Linked DNA regions of Homo sapiens: regions 1 and 3 are each linked to region 2. The links are contacts of gene promoters, found by promoter capture Hi-C in human tissues and cell types (Jung and others, 2019). All regions are on one chromosome and are shown on one strand. Each heading gives the region's core, a stretch centred on a gene start or on the middle of the fragment in contact. The rest is flanking DNA. Distances are from core to core; before and after follow the strand shown. Region 1 overlaps PEMT (phosphatidylethanolamine N-methyltransferase). Region 2 holds the start of SREBF1 (sterol regulatory element binding transcription factor 1). Region 3 has its middle 18 kb from the start of DRG2.

Region 1 (3,072 bases), core at 280-2,779, 250 kb after region 2:
GGAGGCAAAGCTCCGATGGCCGATGCGGGGTATCTTGACTGCCTTTCAGGGAAAAATGTTTGCCTTTATCCAAAATCGTTTCCAAAAATCTTTTGATTGTATTACTTTAGTTGAAATAAACATTAGGCCGTTATATTAGATGAGTTACTCTGTGGTGTTTTCAAGGCCGTACATTTTGTCTTCAGTAATTTTGGCATCAGCCAAGACAGAGCAGGGTTGAGGCTTTCCGTGGCTGCTCATCAAAACAATGACAGAAACTCTTGGAGCTTGTTTCCCCTGCCTCTGTTGAGATGACACTGTTTTTCCTCATTAAGCTGTAAATATGAATTCCATTGATGTTTTGAATGTTGAACTAGCTCTGGATTCCTGGGGTGATCTCTGGCTGGTCCTAACATATTATCCTTTGTATATATTGCTGGATTTGATTTGCTCTAATTTTTGGGGGGATCTTCTTTCTTTATCTGGTTTCATTTGATTTAATTAATTTATTTATTTTAAGACAGAGTCTCGCTCTGTTGCTCAGGCATGTACTCAGGAATGCAGTGGCGTGATACCAGCTCATTGCAACCTCCGCCTCCCGAGTTCAAGCAATTCCCCCACCTCAGGCTCCCGAGTAGCTGGGATTACAGGTGCACCTACCACCACACCTGGTTTTTGTTTTGTTTTGTTTTGTTTTTTGTATTTTTAGTAGCGACAGGGTTGTTGGCCAGGCTGGTCTCAAACTCCTGACCTTAAGTGATCCACCCACCTTGGCCTCCCAAAATGCTGGGATTACAGGCGGTGAGCCACTGCACCCGGCCTGGTTTTAGTGTTAGGGTAATACAGTGAGTTGGGAAGTATTGCCTCCCTCTTCCATATTCTGGAAGAGATTGTGTGGAATTGGAATTATTTTTTCCTTAAATGTTAGGCAGAATTCATCCAGGAAACCATCTGGGCTCAAGGCTTTCTTTTTTTAGGTTTTTAAGCCATAAATTCAAATCCTTTAAAAGATAAAGGATTATTTCTTGAATGAATTTTGACAGTTGTGTCTTGCAAGGATCGGTTCATTTCATCTAAGTTACTTAATTTGTGTTATTCATAGTATTCCCTTATTATTACTTTAATGTTTGTGAGGTCAGTAGAGAAGTCCCCCCTTTTATTTCTGATATTGATATTTTGTGTCTTTTCTCTTTTTTTCTTGGTCAGGCTGGCTGGAGGTTTCTCAGTTTTATTGGGAAAATAAATTTTCCCCAAAGAACCAGCTTTGGGTGTAATTTTTTTTTCTCTATTGTTTTCCTGTTTTCAATTTGATTGATTTTTGCTTATCTTTAATTTTTTGTCCTGCCTCCTTTGGGTTTAACTCATTCCTCTTTCTCTAATTTCTTTCTTTCTTTTTTTGAGACGGAGTCTTCCTCTGTTGCCCAGGCTGGAATGCAGTGGTGCAATCTCGGCTCACTGCAACCTCCGTCTCCCGGGTTCAAGCAATTCTCCTGCCTCAGCCTCCCAAGTAGCTAGGATTACAGGCGCCCTCCACCACGCCTGGTTAATTTTTGTATATTTAGTAGAGATGGGGTTTCACCATGTTGGCCGGGCTGGTCTTGAACTCCTGACCTCAAGTAATCTGCCTGCTTCAGCCTCCCAAAGTACTGGGATTATAGGCATGAGCCACTGCGCCCAGCCACTCTTTCTGTAATTTCTTAAGGGCAAAGCTTATATTCCTGACCTGGGACTTTTCTTCCTTACTAATAGAAGCCCTGCCTTAGCCGCATCCCACAGGGTTTCATGTGTTCTATTCTCATTTTCATTCAGTTCAAAATGTTTCTAGATTTCCCAAGACTTCCCATTTGGCCCTCGCGTGCATTCTTTCCACGATCGCTTTCTGTGACTGATTTCGAGTTTAATTCTGTGGTGGTTTGGGAGCATACTGTGTATGCTTTCTATTCGTTTAAATTTAAGGTTTGTTTGGTGGCCCCAAGTGTGATCTGTTTTGGTGACACCAGAGACTGCAGGCTGTTCCCAAGGCTGCCATGTGCTGTGGTCAGGTCCAGCCACTGGATGGCGCTGCTCAGGTCAGCTGCGTCCTCCCGATTTTCCACCTGCGTTTTTTTTTTTCTTTCTTTCTTTCTTTCTTTCTTTCTTTCTTTCTTTCTTTCTTTCTTTCTTTCTTTCTTTCTTTCTTTCTTTTTCTTTCTTTCTTTCTTTCCTTCCTTCTTTTTCTTTTTCTTTCTTTCTTTTTCTCTTTCTTTTTCTTTCTTTCTTTCTCATTAGATTTTTTTTAATGGGTCTCAAAAATCTGTGACAATTTTTTTTTTTTTTTTGAGACGGAGTCTCGCTCTGTCGCCCAGGCTGAAGTGCAGTGGCGCCATCTTGGGTCACTGCAAGCTCCACCTCCCGGGTTCACGCCATTCTCCTGCTTCAGCCTCCCGAGTAGCTGGGACTACAGGCGCCTGCCACCACGCCCAGCTAATTTTTTTAATTTTTTAGTAGAGACGGGGTTTCACCGTGTTAGCCAGGATGATCTCGATCTCCTGACTTCATGATACGCCCGCCTCAGCCTCTCAAAGTGCTGGGATTACAGGCATGACTCACCGCGCCCGGCCCGACAAATTTTTGGTCAAGTTGTTTCCATTCAAAAGTACTGATTTTAAAAACTAATAACTTAAAACTGCCACAGGCAAAAAAGAAAACCAAAGTGGTCCACAAAACATTTTCCTTTCCTTCTAAAGGTTTTATGATGCATTGTTATCATTAACCAGTCTTTTACTACTAAATTTAAATGGTCAATTGAAACAAACAGTTCTGAGACGTTCTTCACCACTGATTAAGAGCGGGGTGGCAGGTATTAGGGATAATATTCATTTAGCCTTCTGAGCTTTCTGGGCAGACTTGGTGACCTTGCCAGCTCCAGCAGCCTTCTTGTCCACTGCTTTGATTCTCTCAGTCACTGAGAGGACCATGGAGGGCCCTAACAAGAACTGTGGATTTGTCTTTTCCACCCTTTAGTTCTGTCAGCTTTTGCTTCATACCTCACCTCACTTCTTTTTGTTGTTGTTGTTTGTTTTTGAGATGGATTCTCGCTCTGTCGCCCAGGCT
Region 2 (3,155 bases), core at 391-2,890:
AAAACCCAGATCACCTGCCTAGCTCTGAAGAAAATGGTATTTAGGCTTCACCCAGCACTTCCTATCCCACCCCCTCCCTGGGAAGGGCTGTTTAAATTTTCAGGGAAGTCACCAGCTTCCTGCAGCCTCTAGAGTGTTGGTGGGGGTGGGGCACTGAGGAGAAGCCAGCTTTGTTCTCTGTGTTCTCCAGCAGTTGTTCATCTGGAGGGAGTGGGTCCTGGGTGGACCCTTGAGCAGGGCTACTTGGGGAGATGTGGTTTGGCGACCCCTATGACTTCTGGCGCCGCTATTCTGGGTAATTTTCCACCGCAGCCACTTCTGGGAGAGGAACAAAGGGAGCTGGATGTCCAGGCTGAGCCCCAGGGACTTGGGCTCTGTGGCTTCTCTCCCCCACACACCCCTTCTAAAATGCATCATGAATGTTACTCCTGCTTAGGGCGTGGCCAGATAGGCTATATCTGGAGTTTGAGCAAGGCAGTCTGCAGGATGGCTTGACTTATGAAGGTCTGGGGTCGGGAAGGCCTGAGGCCCAGGCCCCTGATGAGTTTCCTGGACTGCCCTCCACCAAGGGTGCTTCTCTCTGCTTGCATACCTCTGGGGACAGGGAGCTCACTGCCTTATCACATTCAGATTCCTGAATGTTAATTCTGGTTTATTTCAACCCACCTCATTGGGACCCCTTCCCTCCTTCCTGCCCCACCTGGCTCTGTCCCTAGGCCACAGAACCAGGTTCGGTTTCCAGCCCTCTTCTCAACAGGGCTGCCTGCTCTGATCTAGTCCCAGCTTGTGATGATCCAGGGCAGCCTGGCTCTGATCTAAAGCACAGCTACCTCTTCCTTGCGGCCCCTATCCTGGCTGCTCCTGGGAATAAGTGCCAAATCTGGGGTCAGACAGCCCTGGGGCCAGTCTTCCTTGGGTACTGGCTTCCTCCTTCAGGAGCTGCACTGGGCCCACTGGTATCCTATCCCTACAGCTGGATCTGGGAGGAAACCAGATGACGAAATTCCAGCCTCTTTCTTTGGCCACTCCTGTCCTCAAGAGGCCAATCTTCTGGTTTCTTTGCAGAGAGGGGGCAGGCTGATCTCACAGGTCATGCTCCCCTCCACATTGTCACTAGCCTCCCAGCCTGCCCGTGAGAAAGCATCATTAGGCCCATGTTACAAATGAGGAAAATTGAGGCAGAGTGATGTAACTGGCCCAGCAGTTACATCAGGCCTGCTCACAACACAGCAGGCCTGGGACCCCTATAACTTGGATCCTGGTCTGTCTTGTTCTAAAGAGTCAAATCTAGGAAATGAGGAAATGAAGTTTGGGATGGGCCCAGGCCTGGGGCTTCCACTCGGCTTCCTTGCTTGGTGCTGGAGAAACAGAGGCCCAGAGAGGGGGCTCGGCTTGCCCGCGTTCCCGCAGCAGCCGGCCAGAGGCCGCTGCCATTGTGCGCGAGGCTGGATAAAATGAATGACTGGAGGGCGCTCTGGAGGAGGGGCCGGCTGAGGGGAGATTTGTGGCGCAGACCGGGGATCAGGGGTCCCCCGCTCTCTCAAGGTGGGGCGGGGCCGTCTATCTGGGAGGGCGGGTCCTCCCCGAAAGGCCCCGCCTCCGCCTCGACCGCCCAGCAGAGCTGCGGCCGGGGGAACCCAGTTTCCGAGGAACTTTTCGCCGGCGCCGGGCCGCCTCTGAGGCCAGGGCAGGACACGAACGCGCGGAGCGGCGGCGGCGACTGAGAGCCGGGGCCGCGGCGGCGCTCCCTAGGAAGGGCCGTACGAGGCGGCGGGCCCGGCGGGCCTCCCGGAGGAGGCGGCTGCGCCATGGACGAGCCACCCTTCAGCGAGGCGGCTTTGGAGCAGGCGCTGGGCGAGCCGTGCGATCTGGACGCGGCGCTGCTGACCGACATCGAAGGTGCGTCAGGGCGGGCAGGGCTTGAAGCTGCGCCGGGTGGCGCGAGTAGGGGGCGCGCAGGTGTCTCCCTGGCCTTTGTCTCCCCCACGGGCGCCAGCTCCGTGCTGTGCTCGCGCGGGACTTCCCGGTGTCTCTGAGCTCGGTGTCCCGAGCCTCACCGAGCCTCCCTGGTTCCCGCGCTAGCGTCTCGGGCCGCGCGCTTGTGGGTGAGGGCTCCTGGGCCGGGCCGGGGTCCCTTGGCGGCTCCGGGCCGGGACACGTGCGCCTCTACGCGTCCCAGGCCGGGTGCCGCCCGACCGGTGACTCTCCAGCCCTGTGATGGCCACGGCTGAAGCTGGGGACCCAGGCGTCGCCGAAGCTCCGCCCCAGCCCCAGCCGTGACGTAATTGCGAGGTTACTCACGGTCATTCCCTCCGGCCCGAGAGTTCAGCTCGGCGTCGGAGCTCTTGCGCATGCGCATGGGCGCTGCCTCGCGCCCTTCCCCCGCCTCGTGTCGGGTTCTCCCGGTCTGCGACGGGCACAGCCTCCGCACTCATTCACTGACATCCACCGAATGCCAGGCCCCGTCTTAGGCACCGAGGGTTTACAGACAGACCTGGGTACCCCCTCTTTTAGGGAACACAAAAATCTCCCGGGAAACCAAACGGGTATTTAGTTGTACCTTGGGTGGAGCGAGGCTGGGGGAGGGCAGGGATGTGGCTACTTTGGGTAGAGCGGTCAGGGACTTCTAAGCTGAGACCTGAGGGTCACCCCCAGGACCAGCAAGGAAAGATGTTTTCCAGGCCACGGCAAGGGAAGGGCAAAGGCCTCGAGGCAGGGCCTAAGTGTGAGGAGTTAGAGGCTTGCAAAGGAGTGAGGTCAGGGAGGAGGAGGACGCAAACCGACTTGGTCGGCCAGGGAAAGGGCGGAGCAGAACAGTGGCACCGGCTTCCATCTTTGGAGCATCACCCTGGCTGTGATGAGAAGGGGTTTGGGGCCAATGGTGGCACCAAGTGCCAATTAGGAGGCCCGTTGCTTCCATTTTGTAGATAGAGCAAACGGAAGCCCCTAGCAAATTGCCTGCATGGTTTCTGTGCAGGAGTTTTAGCAGCACTAGCTAAGTTGCACTTGGTTGATGAGGAAACTGAGGCCAAGGTCGCAGGAACAAGATGCCTAGACTCACAGCCTGAATGGACATGTCCATGGAACCCGTGGCCACCCTGGGGTTGGCAAAACAGATATATCTATGCCACCACCACTCCTGCCCTACTGCAGCC
Region 3 (3,220 bases), core at 96-2,595, 230 kb before region 2:
TCCAGAATTTCTTTAGGATGATGGAAAACTTCTGGAAACAGTGGTGATAGGAACACAATGTGAATGTACTTAATACTACTGAACTGTACACTTATGAGTGGTTAAAGTGGTAAATTTTATGTAATACACATTTTACCACAATAAACAAAGCCTCATTACATATAATTTGCAGAAAACCCCTCCCCCTGCAGAAATAACCAAACCAACAACCCATTTCTAGCCCACTCCCCTGACAGCTACTTCCTATTTATTTTCTTTCCTTATGCAGCACAACTCTGCAAGCTACTCACATCAAGCTAAAATAAGCGAGAGAGAGACTGACACTCCAAAACAAAAAGTTTATTTGAGAATAGCAAGGGGTTGCAATCTGGGGTATATGGTTGGGGAAAGGGGAATGAATCTTTTAGAGGTAAAAAGGAGAAGTCCGTGTAAGCTGTTTTAAGACAGAGAACATTGTTCACAGGGGCTTCTCACAGGCTCCAGTTCCCAGCTCCCTTGCAGTGTGGTGACTGTGTGAATGGCCAGAAGCCACACTTAGTCCACCAACACCACAAGCCTGAAAGCCTTTCTCTCATTTCAGGGCGGGAGGCTCACTTAGTTACGCTCAAAGCTTCCTGTGCGTTGGAGTCACCCGGGGAGCTTTAAAAACATCGACAGGTTGTGAGGACTGGTCTGCATGCTGCCTGACATTAAATCAGCTCCCATGTGCTTCTGAAGTGCAGCCAGGTTTCAGAAACACTGCTCCAGGTCAAGCCAGTGAGAAGGCATGAAGATGGAGGGGCTGTGGAGCGATTATGGAGAGAAACCATGACTAATGCATTGAAAAATGAAGCGAACTGAAAAATCAGAAGGAAAAAAATGGCAAAAATAAACTTGAATCCAGCATATGTTTCTCTACAAATGAAAAGCCTTACATGTTTTCCCTGCTATGTACAAATAGGGAGTTTCAATCTTTCGATGTTTTGGAAGAAAAATCTGGAGGGAAAAGCTGTTCAACTGCAATCCAACTTTGAGGCTTTTTTTTTTAATTTTTATTTTTAAATATATCAAAGCCTACTGCCTATTTCATTACTGAGCAATTTTAATGCTTCCCTTCCCAGGTGCAGTTCAGATGAGTGGAGATAGCACTTTTTTTGTTGTTGTTTTTTTTGAGATGGAGTCTTTGCACTATCGCCCAGGCTGGAGTGCAGTGGCGCTATCTCGGCTCACTGCAAGCTCCGCCTCCCGGGTTCACGCCATTCTCCTGCCTCGGTCTCCTGAGTAGCTGGGACTACAGGGGCCTGCCACCACGCCCAGCTAACTTTTTGTATTTTTAGTAGAGACGGGGTTTCACCGTGTTAGCCAGGATGAGTCTTGATCTCCTGACCTTGTGATCCGCCCACCTTGGCCTCCCAAAGTGCTGGAATTACAGGCGTGAGCCACCGCGCCCAGCCGACAGCATTCTTATAGTTTTCCTTTTGTCCTGTTTTGCAATTGGTTTCACACTTAAAATCTACACAATTTCTACTATTTCTACAGTTCCTATAGATGGCCTAAAAACAAAGCTAACTAAAGGTTATAAATTGGGGATCTAAGAATCGAGATATGAAAGAGAGTTGCTATAGCTGTTGTAGACATGTTTTATTCCTGCATCACCCTCAATACCTACAATGGTGCATGTGGCAAGGCTCAGTAGATACTTTTTATTTATTTATATTTTTTTGAGATGGAATCTCATTCTGCCACTCAGGCTGGAGTGCAGTGGCACGACCTTGGCTCACTGCAACCTCTGCCTCCCTGGTTCAAGTGATTCTCCTGCCTCAGCTTCCTGGTAGCTGGGACTACAGGCACCCGCCACCATGCCCGGCTAGTTTTTGTATTTTTAGTAGAAATGGGGTTTCACCATGTTGGCTAGGCTGGTCTCGAACTCCTGACCTCAAGTGATCCTCCCACCTCAGCCTCCCAAAGTGCTGGGATTACTGGCATGAGCCACCGCACCCTGGCCCAGTAGATATTTTTATATTATTATTAAGCAAGAATAACTTTTTACATGTTATTCAATTTACAATTATTCTTATTCAATTTACAATGTGCTTTCAGGAGCATCTTCTAGAATCCTCAACAATTCTTTAGTCCAGACAGAGGTTTTCCACTTTCTGGGTGAGGGAAGTTGGGCTCAGGGAGGTTAGCTGATGTACCTTGAGGGCAGATTGGGACCCAAGGTTGATAGGTGGAACCCAGGCCTCCCATGACTTTTCCATTCAACAAAACAGCCAATAAATGGTGTCTTGGCTGGGTGTGGTGGCTCACACCTGTAATCCCAGCACTTTGGGAAGCTGAGGTGGGTGGACAGCTTGAGCCCAGGAGGTTAAGACCAGCCTGGGCAACATAGGGAGACCCCATCTTTACAGAAATAAAAAAAATTAGGTGGGCGTGGTCGCATGCCTGTGGTGCCAGCTACTTGGGAGGCTGATGCAAGAGGATCACCTGAGCCTGGGAGTCTGCAGTGAGCTGTGATAGCACCACTGCACTCCAGCCTGGTGATAGAGAGCTTGCCTCAAAAGATAAAAATAAATGGTGTCTTAAATCCTGAGTCCAGCACTGTGAACAGTCTATTCTTTTATTGACACCACATCTCATGGGAGAAAAAAGCTTATTATTGCTTAGACAATATGAGATCAGAAAATACACACAACAGGGGAGCTTTGCCCTGCCACTGATGTAAATTCCCTTAGCATTTCAACTTGCTTAAAATTTAGACCTCAACACTTTATATGTTTCCTCAAAATCTCCCATGTTTCCAGTCATGTTCCTTCAAGCCTCCTAGGGAGGTGGGACCTGAAACGTAACAGAATGGTTTGTCAGAATAAACTGTAATGGCTGATTTAGGGATCCTGCTATTTGGGGGTCCAAGTGCCTGTGCTTTGAGACTTAGGCATCTTCTCTGAGGACCACAGTCACAGTGTCGAGAGCAGCCCAACAGCATTGCCTGTCCCCACACCAGAACACAAAGCAGGCTTTGGACAGATACCTCTGCCTGCACATTTTCTCTGTGTTAAATAGAAATATAAACCCTTCACATATGGAAAAAAAAAATGCTTCCACATTTCTGAAGAAATACAGAAATTAACAAAATGGAGCTTGAATAGAAGTGCTGAGCAGCTGAAAACATTCAGAATGAAAAAGGAGCAAGCAGACCACTGCAACAGTTGCCCAGAGGGGCCCTCGGTTTGCCCTGGCA

What was found. The method cuts DNA at HindIII sites, captures the fragments that hold promoters and counts their contacts. A contact is called where the count stands out against the background at its distance.
Region 1: a contact is called between a fragment that was not itself captured here and the fragment with the promoter of SREBF1 in region 2, in 2 of the 25 tissues and cell types used here (dorsolateral prefrontal cortex and hippocampus).
Region 3: a fragment that was not itself captured here is called in contact with the fragment with the promoter of SREBF1 in region 2 in 2 of the 25 tissues and cell types used here (IMR-90 fibroblasts and dorsolateral prefrontal cortex).

Annotation. Positions count from the first base shown.
Region 1 is chr17:17,585,308-17,588,379 of GRCh38, reverse strand. The region is part of intron 1 of PEMT (phosphatidylethanolamine N-methyltransferase); the gene reads left to right. It also overlaps the pseudogene EEF1A1P43. Among named protein-coding and RNA genes, the nearest start is that of PEMT, 4.9 kb to the left of the region's middle. The HindIII fragment of the contact is 6,883 bases long and covers 1-3,072 here.
Region 2 is chr17:17,835,471-17,838,625 of GRCh38, reverse strand. It overlaps SREBF1 (sterol regulatory element binding transcription factor 1), which reads left to right and starts at 1,640. Exons shown (of 19, transcript NM_004176.5): 1 at 1,640-1,899. The coding sequence starts at 1,809. RefSeq lists enhancers at 59-960, 961-1,863, 1,864-2,765 and silencers at 1,632-1,791, 1,982-2,261. The HindIII fragment of the contact is 17,140 bases long and covers 1-3,155 here.
Region 3 is chr17:18,068,507-18,071,726 of GRCh38, reverse strand. No RefSeq gene overlaps it. Among named protein-coding and RNA genes, the nearest start is that of DRG2, 18 kb to the left of the region's middle. The HindIII fragment of the contact is 6,284 bases long and covers 1-3,220 here.